4 separate regions of the Homo sapiens genome follow, and all the other regions are linked to region 1. Evidence: promoter capture Hi-C in 16 types of primary human blood cells and fetal thymus (Javierre and others, 2016). All regions are on one chromosome and are shown on one strand. Each heading gives the region's core, a stretch centred on a gene start or on the middle of the fragment in contact. The rest is flanking DNA. Distances are from core to core; before and after follow the strand shown. Region 1 holds the start of CILP2 (cartilage intermediate layer protein 2). Region 2 has its middle 69 kb from the start of ZNF682. Region 3 overlaps LOC124904664 (a long non-coding RNA gene). Region 4 overlaps ZNF93 (zinc finger protein 93).

What was found. Contacts are between HindIII fragments. The CHiCAGO score rates a contact against its expected background, and 5 or more counts as called.
Region 2: a fragment that was not itself captured here is called in contact with the fragment with the promoter of CILP2 in region 1 in 3 of 17 cell types (non-activated CD4 T cells, total CD8 T cells and activated CD4 T cells); the score reaches 6.7 in non-activated CD4 T cells.
Region 3: a fragment that was not itself captured here is called in contact with the fragment with the promoter of CILP2 in region 1 in 1 of 17 cell types (non-activated CD4 T cells); the score reaches 5.4 in non-activated CD4 T cells.
Region 4: a contact is called between a fragment that was not itself captured here and the fragment with the promoter of CILP2 in region 1, in 1 of 17 cell types (non-activated CD4 T cells). The highest score is 5.4, in non-activated CD4 T cells.

What each region holds. Positions count from the first base shown.
Region 1 is chr19:19,536,472-19,539,552 of GRCh38, reverse strand. It overlaps CILP2 (cartilage intermediate layer protein 2), which reads right to left and starts at 1,288. Exons shown (of 8, transcript NM_153221.2): 1 at 1,140-1,288. The coding sequence starts at 1,203. It overlaps YJEFN3 (YjeF N-terminal domain containing 3), which reads right to left. Exons shown (of 7, transcript NM_198537.4): 7 at 1,972-2,234. The coding sequence ends at 2,029. RefSeq lists a silencer at 1,043-1,412. The HindIII fragment of the contact is 27,377 bases long and covers 1-3,081 here.
Region 2 is chr19:19,968,792-19,971,845 of GRCh38, reverse strand. It overlaps the pseudogene BNIP3P12. Among named protein-coding and RNA genes, the nearest start is that of ZNF682, 69 kb to the left of the region's middle. The HindIII fragment of the contact is 1,649 bases long and covers 608-2,256 here.
Region 3 is chr19:19,859,569-19,863,043 of GRCh38, reverse strand. It overlaps LOC124904664 (a long non-coding RNA gene), which reads left to right. Exons shown (of 4, transcript XR_007067169.1): 3 at 1,728-1,981. Among named protein-coding and RNA genes, the nearest start is that of ZNF253, 4.6 kb to the left of the region's middle. RefSeq lists an enhancer at 1,605-2,155. The HindIII fragment of the contact is 2,566 bases long and covers 367-2,932 here.
Region 4 is chr19:19,909,589-19,912,941 of GRCh38, reverse strand. The region is part of intron 1 of ZNF93 (zinc finger protein 93); the gene reads right to left. Among named protein-coding and RNA genes, the nearest start is that of ZNF93, 10 kb to the right of the region's middle. The HindIII fragment of the contact is 1,625 bases long and covers 713-2,337 here.

The sequences.
Region 1 (3,081 bases), core at 39-2,538:
TCCCTCTGTCACCCAGGCTGGAGTGCAGTGGCACGATCTCGGCTCACTGCAGCCTCTGCCTCCTGGGTTCAAGTGATTCTCACACCTCAGCCTCCTGAGTAGCTGGGATTACAGGCACGCTCCACCAGGCCTAGCTAATTTTTATATTTTTAGTAGAGACGGGGTTTCACCATGTTGGCCAGGTTGGTCTCAAACTCCTGACCTCAGGTAGTCCGCCCGCCTCGGCCTCCCAAAGTGCTGGGATTACAGGCGTGAGCCACCGTGCTTGGCCCATGATCCCCATTTTAACAGGAGGGAAAATTGAGGCTCTGAGAGGCCAGAACCCAGCTCTAGCCCCAAGGGCTGCCATACACTCTCCTCCAGCGCGCTGCCCATGACCACCACCAGGCCCCCAAAGCCAGGTACCTCTCTCTGACCTAGCCCTAACCCCCCGGCTGGGGAAGTGCAAGTACCACCCAGTTCCCCTAGGCTAGAGTCTCCCTCCCACTATGTTCAGCTGCCGCGAGATCAATCAAGTTCAGCTGGCTGTGCCTCTGCCCTCAGGCTGGGCTCCCCCTCATCCACTTGGCCTGCTGGAAGCCCCTCCCTTAGTCTGTCTTCCATCCCTGTACTACAGTCCGAGCTGCCGGGAAGTCCTTGGAATCTAGACTGGCTTCTCCAAGATAGGAGCTGTCCAAGATACTCCCAGCAGAGTGATGAGGTCAGACAAGCCCCTTCCTTCTGGGTGCCTCAGTCTCCTCACTTGAGAAGTGGGCCCGTCCCCCGCCCCATTGAGTGTTCCAGGGATGGGCATTTCTTTCTCCAGCGGTTGGAGTGAGTGCGTGTGTGGGAGTTAGGTGGGAGGGGCCAGTTCCGACCCCTTCGGTCCAGGGTGGGAGACCTGGCCGGTGATTCAGAGTCCAAACCCCGGGAGGAACCCTAGGTTCTTATCCACACTCCCGGCTTAGCCAAGGAAGAGAATGGATGAGGCCCGCTCCGCGCCCCAGGTGGTCGCGGGGATCCGACTGGTGAAGGGGACCCAGTCCCCGGGGAAGCGCGTGGGTCCCTGGGTTCTCTCCCCGAGTGCGGCTTCACCCAAGGCCGGCTGCCAGGCCCTCGGGAGCCTCAGGGGCTGGGCGCGGGGGCTGGAGGCGCCTCACCTCGGGCCCCCGCCAGGTGCGCAGCGACGACACAGAGACAGAGCAGTGGCAGCAGCGACGCCATGGCCGGGGCAGAGCGTCCGAGGGAGGGTCCGGGCTCCGCGGCGTGCTCGGGTCCAACTCCGGCGGGTCTGGCGGCCGCTGGGACTGAGAGTGGGGGCGGGATGCGACCGCAGATCCCGCCCTGGCCACGCCCCATTCAGGCCACGCCCCCTGGCCCTGGGTGACGGCGCTCGAGCAACCCCTCTGGGTCGCCCCCCTTGGTGCGTCTGGCTGTGCCTCCGTCCTCAGGCTGTCCTGGGTTCCCCGTGGCCTGCTGGAACTCCCTCCCCGAGCCCACTCAGTCCTCCAAGCTGCATCCCAAGCTGCCTGAGGGAAGTGTCACTTGGAATCCAGCCTCAAGCTGCTCGGACCCGCTTTAGGTGGCTGGAAGTCCTGTCTCGCGTCTCACTTCGATCCTATAGGCTTTAGGCCACCCCAAACAGTCTGGGAGTCCCACCCTGAATCTACCCTCCATTCTTCTGGCTCGAGTTTTCTTTCTTCTTTTTCTTTTAATTTGTAGAGTCGGGATCTTGCTATGTTGCCCAGGCTGGTCCCAAACTCCTGGCCTTAAGCGATCCTCCAGCCTCAGCCTCCCAAAGTGCTGAGATTACAGGCAGGAGCCACCGCCCCCAGCCCTAGCTGAAGTTTTCTAGGCCAGCGGGAAGTCCCACTCCACCGCCCTTCTCATGCTCCCCGCCTTGGATCACCCAGGGACCGTGTGAAGTCCCTCTTCGAGTGTGCCCACCCCCGCAGCGGGCCCGGTGCACAAAGGAGGCGGAGGCGAGGCGGCGGTGGTGGGAGGGCTGTTTATTGGCGAGGGTCCCTGCGGTGTGGCCGCGGGTGGCGGTCACAGTGCCGCGACGCAGTCGGTGCCCGTGTATCCCGGCAGGCGCAGAGCGAACTTGCGGCGCACGTCATCGGGCACGAACCTGCCGGCCACGAAGTGGTGGCGCCCGGAGAAGCGGCCAGCGCAGCGCTTGGGCGCCGCGAGAGACACCAGCACGTCAGGCCGCAGCCCGTCCTCCGAATCGCTGCCGGTCTCTGCGTCCCAGCCTGAGGGAGGAGGGTCCGGGGGGATTGGGAACTGGGAGGGTGGCCTGCCCTCAGCCTAGAGTCCATCCTGTCCCTGCCTCCTCTCCTCTCCCCTCCAACACTGAGCCTCTGCCCTCAGACCAGAGTCCTGCTGCCCCACCCCCACTTCCCCTCCCCCATCAGACCCAGCCTTTTCTCTCTGGCACATGGGTCCTGGTGAGACTTGTCGCCCCCTAGAACTCTGCCTCCGCCCTCAGACAAGTCTCTCCCAGTCCTTGGAGGTGTTTCCCTCCCAATCAGACCAGAGCTTCTGCACTCAGACTTTCTGCTTCTGCTCCTATCCTACTATTCAATCGCCCTCCTCCATCTGACCCAGCCTCTGTCTTCAGTCACCCAGGCTGGAGTGCAATGGTGCAATCTCGGCTCACTGCAACCTCTGCCACACGGGTTCAAGCAATTCTCCTGTCTCAGCCTCCCGAGTAGCTGGGACTACAGGCACACGCCACCATGCCTGGCTAATTTTTGTATATTTAGTAGAGATGGAGTTTCACCATATTGGCCAGGCTGGTCTCGAACTCCTGACCTTGTGATCTGCCCACCTCGGCCTCCCAAAGTGCTAGGATTATGGGTGTGAGCCATTGCGCCCAGCCTGTTTGTTTTTAAGATACAGTCTCTCTCTATTGCCCAGGCTGGAGTGCAGTGGCACGATCTCAGCTCACAGCAACCTCTGCCTCCCGGGTTCAAGCGATTCTCCTGCCTCAGCCTCCCAAGTAACTAGGACTACAGGCGTGCACCACTACACCCAGCAAATGTTTGTATTTTGTAGAGACTGGGTTTCGCCATGTTGGCCAGGCTGGTCTGGAACTCC
Region 2 (3,054 bases), core at 183-2,682, 430 kb before region 1:
GGGAAGAACCACAGGGAGAAGGAAACTGCCAGCTAAACTTTGTAATAGTTTTGACCTAGTGTGAATTTTCCTTGGCAGAATCGGTGAGGGGACAGTGAATGGGAAGCACAGATATGGGCACAGAATCCATGGCAGGTGGTGAGGGGTGGGGCCTGAAAGCCCAGGTTGCTTTCTCAATGGGGAGGCTTATAGCCTGGGGCAAGATCTCAGTACTGCTCACCAACTGGATATAAACTTGATGCTGTTGGTGGGTAGGGTGTGAGTGAAACTGGCCTTGCTGGCTTCATGGGAGCTGAGTGAGGCCTGTCACTGCTGGCTTTCCTTCACTTCCATCCTGACCTATATGATACAGCAGAGGCAGCCATAATCCCCCTGGAAACATAACTCCATTGGCCTGAGAACCATACTCCCAACCCCACAGCAGCTGCAGCAAGCCCCACCCAAGGAGGGTCTGAGCTCAGACATGTCCAACCCTGCCCTCACCTGATGGTCTTACTCTACCCACCCTGGTAGCTGAGGACAAAAGACATACTCTCTTGGGAGCTCTATGTTCCCACTCATTGCCTGAAAAACATGAATACTTATCCAGGTGACCTGGTGGCAAGCTTGCATACCCCCATATTACCACAGCTGATGCTGTCTTAAAGCTGCCACCTCCAGGTTGGAGGCCAACCAACTCAAGCCCTTACAGTAACTCACAAAATAATGACCCCTGCCAGGTGGGGTGGCTCACACCCATAATCACAGCACTATGGGAGGCTGAGGTGGGTGGATCACCTGAGGTCAGGAGTTTGAGACCAGCCTGACAAAAATGGAGAAACCCCCTCGCTACTAAAAATGTAAAATTAACCAGGCATGGTGGAACATGCCTGTAATCCCAGCTACTCAGGAGGCTGAGGCAGGAGAATCACTTGAACCCAGGAGGCCAAGGTTGCAGTGAGCCAAGGTCGTGCCACTGCACTCCAGCCTGGGCAACAAGAGTGAAACTCCATCTCAAAAAAAAAAAAAAAAAAAACCCACTCCAATAAAGGAGAAAACAACAGCTAATTCCACCTGTAACATTGTAACATCCTGGCTACACAGAAGTCTTCAGTCTGTCCATGTGACAACTTCACTGCTAGAACAACCTGCATTCAAAAAAACCAGTGCACTAAACTGAATTACAACCAAGGACCCTCACAGAGTCCACTTTAGTCCCCTGCTACCTCTACCAGAGCAGGTGGTATTATCCATGGCTGAGAAACCTGAAGACAGATCACATCACAGGACTCTTTGCAGATACTCCCCAGTACCAGCCCAGAGACCAGTAGCTCCACTGGGTGGTTAAACCCAGAAGAGCAATAACAATCCCTGCAGTCTGACTCTCAGGAAGCCCCATCCCAAGGGAAAAGGGGAGACCATCACATCAAGGGATCACCCCATGAAACAAAAGAATCTGAACAGCAGCCTAGAGCCTCAGGTCTTACTTCTGACATAGACTACCCAAATGAGAAGGAACCAAAACAAAATTCTGGTAATATAAAAAAGCAATAATTTTTTTTTTTTTTTTTTTTTTTTGGTTACAGAGCCTCACTCTGTCGCCCAGGCTGGAGTGCAGTGGCATGATCTCGGCTCACTGCAAGCTCCGCCTCCCAGGTTCATGCCGTTCTCCTTCCTCAGCCTCCCAAGCAGCTGGAACTACAGGTACCCACCACAACACCTGGCTAGCTTTTTGTTTTTTTAGTAGATATGGGGTTTCACCGTGATAGCCAGGATGGTCTCGATCTCCTGACCTCATGTTCCACCCGCCTCAGCCTCCCAAAGTGCTGGGATTACAGCTGTGAGCCACCATGCTTGGCCAAAAGCAAGAATTTTTTTTAACACCTTCAAAGGACCACACAAGCTCACTAGCAGTGGATCCAAACCAAGAAAAAAATCCCTGAATTGCCAGAGAAAGAATTCATAAATTCCATTATTAAGCCACTTAAAGAGACACTACAGAAAGGTGAATACTAACTTAATGAAATTTTTAAAAAATACAGGATATGGATGAAAAAAATCTCCAGAGAAATAGATAGCATAAATAGAAAACAACCATGACTTCTGGAAATGAAAGGCACACTTAAAGAAATGCAAATTATAGTGGGAAATTACAACAATAGAACCAAACAAGTAGAAGAAAGAACTTCAGACCTCAAAGACAAGACTTTTGAATATTCCAATCTAACAAAGACAAACAAAAAAGAATTTAAAAATGAGCTAAGCCTCCAAGAAGCTTGGAATTATGTTAAACAATAAAATCTAACAATAATTGGTGTTCCCAAGGTAGAGGAGAAATCTAAAAGTTTGGAAAACTTATTTGAGGGAATAATTGAGAAAAACTTTCCTGGCCTTGCTAGAGATCTAGACATGCAAATACAAGAAGTTCAAAGAACACCAAGGAAATTCATCACAAAAAGATCATCACCTAGGCGCATAGTCACCAGGTTATCTGAAGTCAATATGAAGAAGAGATTTTTAAGAGCTGTGAGACAAAAGCATCAGATAACCTATAAAGAAAGACATATCAGATTAACAGCAGATTTCTCAGCAGAAACCCTACAAGCTAGAAGCGATTGGGGTCCTCTGTCTAGCCTCCTTAAACAGAACAAGTATCAGCCAAAAATTTTGTATCCAGTGAAACTAAGCTTCATAAATGAAGGAAAGATACAGTCTTTTTCAGACAAACAAATGCTTAGAGAATTCACCACTACCAAGCCACTACTGTAAGAACTGCTAAAAGGAGTTCTAAATCTTGAAACAAAACCTCAAAATACAATGAAATAGAACCTCCTTACGGCATAAATCTCTCAAGGCCTATAAAACAATAACACAATAAAGAAGGTATTCAGGCAATGACTAGCACAATGAATAGAATAGTCCTTCACATCTCAATACTAACGTTGAATGTAAACGGCCTAAATATTCCAGTTAAAAGATGCAGAATAGCAAAATGGATAAGAGTTTACCAACGAAATATCTACTGTCTTCAAGAGGCTCACCCAACACATAACGACTCACTTAAACTTAAGGTAA
Region 3 (3,475 bases), core at 400-2,899, 320 kb before region 1:
AAAGGCTAAGGCTAAAATACTAGAATTTGAAATCCCTGCTGCTAAAAAGGAGGCTCAGAAATGTATTGTCTTGTTTGGATTCTGGAGACATCATATTCCCCACTTGGGTAACATTTTACAACCTCTGCATGCAGCCACTAGAAAACACTATGACTTTCACTGGGGAAAGAAGGAGAGCATGGCTTCTGAACAAGCTAAACAAGTGGTGCTGCTGGCCCTGGATCTATGCTCCATACGGGATGGGCCAGTAGAACTGCAAGTAACTGTCCTAGATCAACATGCTAATTGGAGCGTTAGGCAGAAACAAGATGGGAAGAGGTACATTTCAGGTTTTGGACCCAGAAACTGTCATAGGCCGGCAAAGCTTATACCTCTTTCTAGAAGCAATTGTTAGCTTCCTATAGGGCTTTGCTGGAAACAGAACACCTCTGCTTCAACCATGATGTCTTTATGAGGCCTGAAATTCCTATTATGACTTGGGTCATGAGTTCCCCCAAAACTCACCAGATGGGGCATGACAAGGGGGAGAACTGGGATATAGGAAGTCCTTGAGTTTCCAGCCCTGGGATCCAGAGTCAGACACCACACTCCCCAGACTGTGGAGGATTCACCACCAGACCAGGAAGCCACAGCCTGGGCTTCAGAGTCGGCCACTCGTCCACGCACAGACGAGGAGAGGTCTCATGAAACTTCGGCGCCATCTGGGATCCCAGCTCTTTTATTTGGCATAAAGCCCAGTCACGAGGGCCCTTAGTGACTGGGCTCAAGGAACACAAAAAGGTCAACTTGTTTTTGTGATTGTCTATCGTTTTTCAATAAGTAAAGTATAGGAATAGATGGAAATAGAGATTTCTCCAAAACAGCACTGGATGAATGCATCAAAGGTCTCACACAACCTCTTCCTGGACTTGGTGATCATTGTTTGTGTCCACGTTCAATTGAGTTCAAATTTAATATTTAACTTTTCCTCCACAAATTCCCCTGTCTTGATGAATCAGCTCTGTCTAGGCAAAGGGCAAGGTGAACCCCTTGGGCCTTACACAACCTCTGCCTCCTGGGTTCAAGCGATTCTTCTGCCTCGGCCTCTGTAGTAGCTGGGACCACAGGTGTGCACCAGCATGCCCGGCTAAATTTTTGTATTTTTAGTAGAGATGGGGTTTCACCATATTGGCCAGGCTGGTCTTTAACTCCTGACCTCAAGTAGTCTGCCCACCTTGGCCTCTCAAAGTGCTGGGATTAGAGGCGTGAGCCACAGTCCCTGTCCCTAAATGCTTTCTATCTCCTATAGCAGTTTGAAATTACTTAAAGGTTGTTTCAAATTGAAAAAATAAAAGGAATGTAGATATAAGTAAAATATAAATAGTTTAAAAATTACAAGAGATTACAAAATATATATGCAAATCTCGAAAGGTCAAAAATGACAAATTTGATTTGTTTATAAGGTTTTATTAAAATTAGCTTTAGTATTGATAATACACTATTACCAAAGTAAAAGTTGATTTTCTCTTGAACAAAAATTTTACGTATTATTAATATAACAGCAAAGTACTTCCGTTCACCTTTCGAATACATTCAAAAAGAGAGAGCAAAAAAGAGATAGAATTTTCCCATGCTCTGGGGTGGGCCTGGCTCAGCTCTGGGAGAAAGCCCTGCCTGAAAAAGATGCAGCTTAGGCTGTGACTCTTTCATTGCTCAGCGCAGCATCTTATCACATCTTCTCTCACTAGGTCCTGAAGGGGCGAGGCCTTAAGCATTATCCAATCAGGGACACTGGGCTGGAAACCGTCCAATCAGACACCCAGCTGGAGCGAACAGGTCGACTTCCGAGTTTGGCGGGGCCTTTGTCTCTCACTGCACCTGGAGCTCCAGGTCTCATCTTCACTACTCTGTGTCCTCTGCTGCTGGAGGCCCAGCCCTGTGACCTGACGGTTTTGGGAGATCCACAGCTAAGACGCCAGGACCTCCTGGAAGCCTAGAAATGGTGAGTGCCGTCGGACATCACGAGAGCAGGGGAGGAACTGGTTGGAACCGGTGGGAAGTGGCTGTGGCGGGACTCAGGCCTCCCCGCAGTCAGCTCCGCAATCTGCGCCCCAAGTTCTCCTTGCCCAGCTCGGCCTCAGTCCCTTTCAGCCGTAAGATGGAGGCTGCGCTCACACCCGGGCCCCCCGGCGTCCTGTCTCTTCCCCTCGCAGTGACTGTGCCCTGGCCTGGAGCCCTCTCCGGGCAGCTCTGCACCCACAGCGCCACGTGTCTCCCAGATCGTGCAGGGACCACGGGAGGGTCCTCAGGGGAGAATCCTGACTCAGGATGCAAGTTCATGAATGGGAAGAGCTTTGGTGCTTGGTCTTCACAGTTTCCCTTTTCTCCTATTAAAAATGTATGGGCCCTTGCGCGGTGGCTCACGCCTGGAATCCTAGCACTTTGGGAGGCCGAGGCGGGCGGATCACTTGAGGTCAGGAGTTGAAGACGAGCCTGGTCAAAATGAGGAAACCCCATCTCTACTAAAAATACAAAAATTAGCTGGGTGTGATGGCGAATGTCTGTAATCCCAGCTACTTGGAAGGCAGAGGTGACAGAATCGCTTGAACCCAAGAGGCAGAGGTTGCAGGGGCTGATATCTTACCACTGCACTCCAGCCTGGGCGACAGAGCAAAACTCTGTCTAAAAAAAAAAAATATGAGAGTCGCCGCAAAAATATCAAATAATTTAATTAAAGAGTGATTCAAGAATTGTTGAGCACCCAGCTATAGTTTGTACTTTATGGTCCATGGTAGGGGCTTGAAGGAAAGACATTTATAAGGTGCATGATGAAGAAAACCATATTCAATCGTTGGTTAGGTATAGTTACGTAGTTTCTTATTTTGTACAATCGAGGTGGAAATGTCCTAGTTATGATTCAGAGCTTAATTGGCAGTTTATAGTTGTGTAAGCTTGAATTTTATTTCCCTTAATATAGTAATTTAACAAAAAGTGCAATTAATTATTTTCACACCTCACAGGGAACTGATTTTTCCCTGGCATTTTTCACATGTGTCCCAAGCAGGGCCTCAAGTGTACCCCATGTTCCTCAATTAATCATTCTTTAAAAAGCATGGCATAACACTATTGAAAATATTTGTTTTCTGTTTGTAAATATTTCCCAGGAGAAGAAAGCAAAGAATAATCCCCTGACACTGTATTGTAAAAAATATTTGTGTCTTTTTCTTTTTTCTTTTTTTTGTTTTGCTTTTTGAGACAGAGTTTTCGCTCTGTTGCCAGACTGGAGTGAGGTCCTACAGTTGTGCAGCCGCGCGATCTGGGCTCACTGCAACCTCCACCTCCCGGGTTCAAGCAATTATCCTGCCTCAGCCTCCTGAGTAGCTGGAACTACAGTCATGTGCCACCATGCCCAGCTAGAGAGGTTTCACCATGTTGGCCAGGATGGCCTGGATCTCTTGACCTCGTGATCCGCCCGCCTCTGCGTTCCAAAGTGCTG
Region 4 (3,353 bases), core at 276-2,775, 370 kb before region 1:
ATCTGAATAAGTCTGTATTTTAAAAAGAACATGTACACAGGTACTAATGCAATGTTTATTAAGCAGGCACTATGTGCTAGAGTATGATACAGAGCACGGTGCTGGGCATAACACATTATATGATTTAATTCTCTTAACACCCGGGGAGCTGGTACTAAGTGTTTCTTAATTTTCAGGATTTAGATAAAGGGCCCATTTTTATTTTTTCTTCTGTTTCTCTGTCATCAAATTTTTTAAAAAATTGTATAGAATAAAAGCTAAATATAGACAGATGAAAGAGATACAGAAGAGTTTAATGTAGTCTAGAGAAAATTTCATTCTGTTTATATTTACTTTTTTGACTTGTGCAGCAACTACTGGATCTGCAGGAATAGAAAACAAGTTGCTAAATACAATGTCTCTGCAAGCACTGGTTTTAATAAAAAATTTAAAAACAAACACCTTACAAAACATACTTTTTTTCCCGATTTATCTGCTTTTGAATTTCAGGAAATTGTGAGCACCAGCTCTAGAAAGGCAGCAGGATTCAGCAGCCAAAACTCTGATCTCCTTTAATGAGTTCTGTGAGGCAATACTCCAGGGTAGGTTCAGACCTAACTAAGGTCTCCAAAAAGGATGAATCTGAACACGTCTGGGGCAGGGTGAGAACCCTATGTAGAATTCTGTTCTCTATGCAACTAGGAAACTTCCAGTTTTGTTTTGTTTCTAAGCTTACCTAAAAGAAACTTAAATCCCAGAGTTTCTGTAGTTTTTATCTTTTCTAGTCACTGCCCTGACAACTTTATACTATATACTAGTATGCAACTTAAACAAATCCCTTAAGGTTTTCTAGGGTAATTTTATTAGAAAATAAATATCTACAGTTAGCAAGGTAAAAGAAATAGAAAATATACGGCCAAGCGCGGTGGGTCATGCTTGTAATCTCAAGACTTTGGGAGACCAAGGCGGGTGCAGAACGAGGTCAAGCAGTTAAAGACCAGCCTGATCCAGATGATGAAACCCCGCCTCTAGTAAAAATACAAAAATTAGCTAGGTGCAGTGGCAGGCAACTGTAATCCCAGCTACTCGGGAGGCTGAGAAGGGAAAGTCACCTGAACCCGGGCGGCAGAGTTTACAGTGAGCCGAGATCGTGCCACTGCAAGCCAGACCAGGTGACAGAGTGAAACACCATCTCAAAAAAAAAAAAGAATTTATAACAATTATTTTGTTCATAAATCTCCCTTCAGGTGTAGACATCAGAAGTCACAACAATATAAAGAAAGTGGTCTAAAGCCCAAGATTTTTAACACATCTATTTATTATACCAACCATATGATGCACACTTCAATTACTTATCCAGTAGCTAGTCTAGACTAAAAGTTTCTGGATTGTAGGAACTATGACTGCTTCATGTATTTTTTTAATGCCCATATGAAGTGGAAGGAGCTAGTTTATCTATCTGGGTCTCCAGATCTTCTCCTTATTATCCAAGTACCAGGAAACTGGAGAAGCTGTCATCGGGGTACCAACCAAAGATATCTCTTGTATGAGGGAATGAACAAACACAGGATGACTCATTTCTCTTACACTGAGACAGAAGCAGAATTAACCACTCTTGTCAGCCTGACAAAATTCTGCTCTGGACATCCTCAAATGCCTCAAAGACACCTGGGTGATTGTGAGAGATTCCCAGTGACCCAGGCCTCATGGCCCAATGATAAGCCAGGCTGGAGAGACTCAGGCTAACTCTGAATAGAAAATGGAACTGCCCTGGTGGAGCTCCAGAACCTGGATCACCCATTCTGATTTGCTAGCTCTTGGGTAAGAGAAAGATCAAAAATACTCTACTCTAGTATTACATTTTACAGCTAAATATAATTGTGGTCATGGCTCTGGATACTTTGTGGCCCCGATCTCTCACTCCTAAGATGCTTATTTACACTTACAGATTCTGCCATCTGAGTCTATTTCTCCTGGAGCCCCTCACATAACTGTAGCAGGTCAATGAACAAGATGTGAAAATCTCAAAGAGCCACACTCCCAAATGGGGGCTGTAAGATGTCTATGTTTACATTCACAATGCAGAAAATGACTTTTGTTCATTTTCTGTACATTCTCAATCCAAGTTCTGGTCCTTTCTTGTAAATCCCAGGCAGAGGCCAGACCTTATCTGCAGATTCCAGGTAGGATCCACCTGGCTCTGCATCCTTTGGTGTTACAGCAAGTGGAATACAATCAAAGGAGAGATCCCCTCATAGAGACTACTCTAGCACATTCTAAATGGTAAGTCTACATGAAAAAAAAAAAAAAAAGCTGAAAGAACATGAATATAAGTAGATAGTTTACTTGGGTCAAGCTTAAGGATTATAACCTGGGAGCAAAGATTCAAGTTGCCTGGAATCTGCATTTTGATTACCAGCAGTTACAAGACAATTTGTAAAGACAACAAGACAGGGACAGAGAGTGGGCTGATACAAAGTTGATTGTCAGAAATTTTTATTTATTTACAGAAATAACATCGATTATTGATTACATATATATTATTATGGTTTAGGGTATGGGATATAGTGTCTAATGTGGCATTATTAGTTTAATTTATAATTACTTGTGGCAATAGTGAACAGTTTCAAGAGATGAATACATAGTTCAAAGGGGGGAGAAAGACATAACAGTACTTTCATTTTAATGTCTGAGTTTGATAACCAAAGGGACTTGCATTTCTTAGGTAAGTTTTTTTTTCCCCCAAATCTCAAGACCTGGATTCAAAATTTGGAGCTTCAAGTTTAGGGCCTGAACGACTGGAGTAGCCACAGGTGTTTACCTGTACATTTGTGAGCATTTAGCAAGAGGAGGAAGGGGAAAGTGGAGATTCTCATGTCTCTATGTCTACTCAGCACACACATGTTACTCTGATTGGGTTTCTGGGCTCCATAGTTTCTGAATCAGTTTCAAATCTGAAGATACAAGAGTCACTGAAAAAGGTTAAATGATTAATTAATTGCTGCCCTGTGAAGTTTGTAGAAATTGGGTCTAGCCTCTCTAGAAGTGACAGTAGAGGAACTATCAATACCAAATAGGCAGAGACAAAATTCCACGTGCATATTTAATGGACAGCATGCATTTTGCTGCGCAAGTATGGGCTGACTCAAAGTCTGAGAGGGAAAGTCCCCTCTACAGTAAATTCTGGTTGGCACCTTATGTGTTTATATCATGTCTGGTAATTCTAGACACTCTGTGGAAACAATAATTAAAAGAAAAATTTTCTCTATTTTCAGAGAAACTCCACAATAATAGAACAGAAAGAAAATGGTCTTATTACACAATTAAACTTGAATGTGACATACATCATCATCAATCTGCTTAAGAGACTGCAA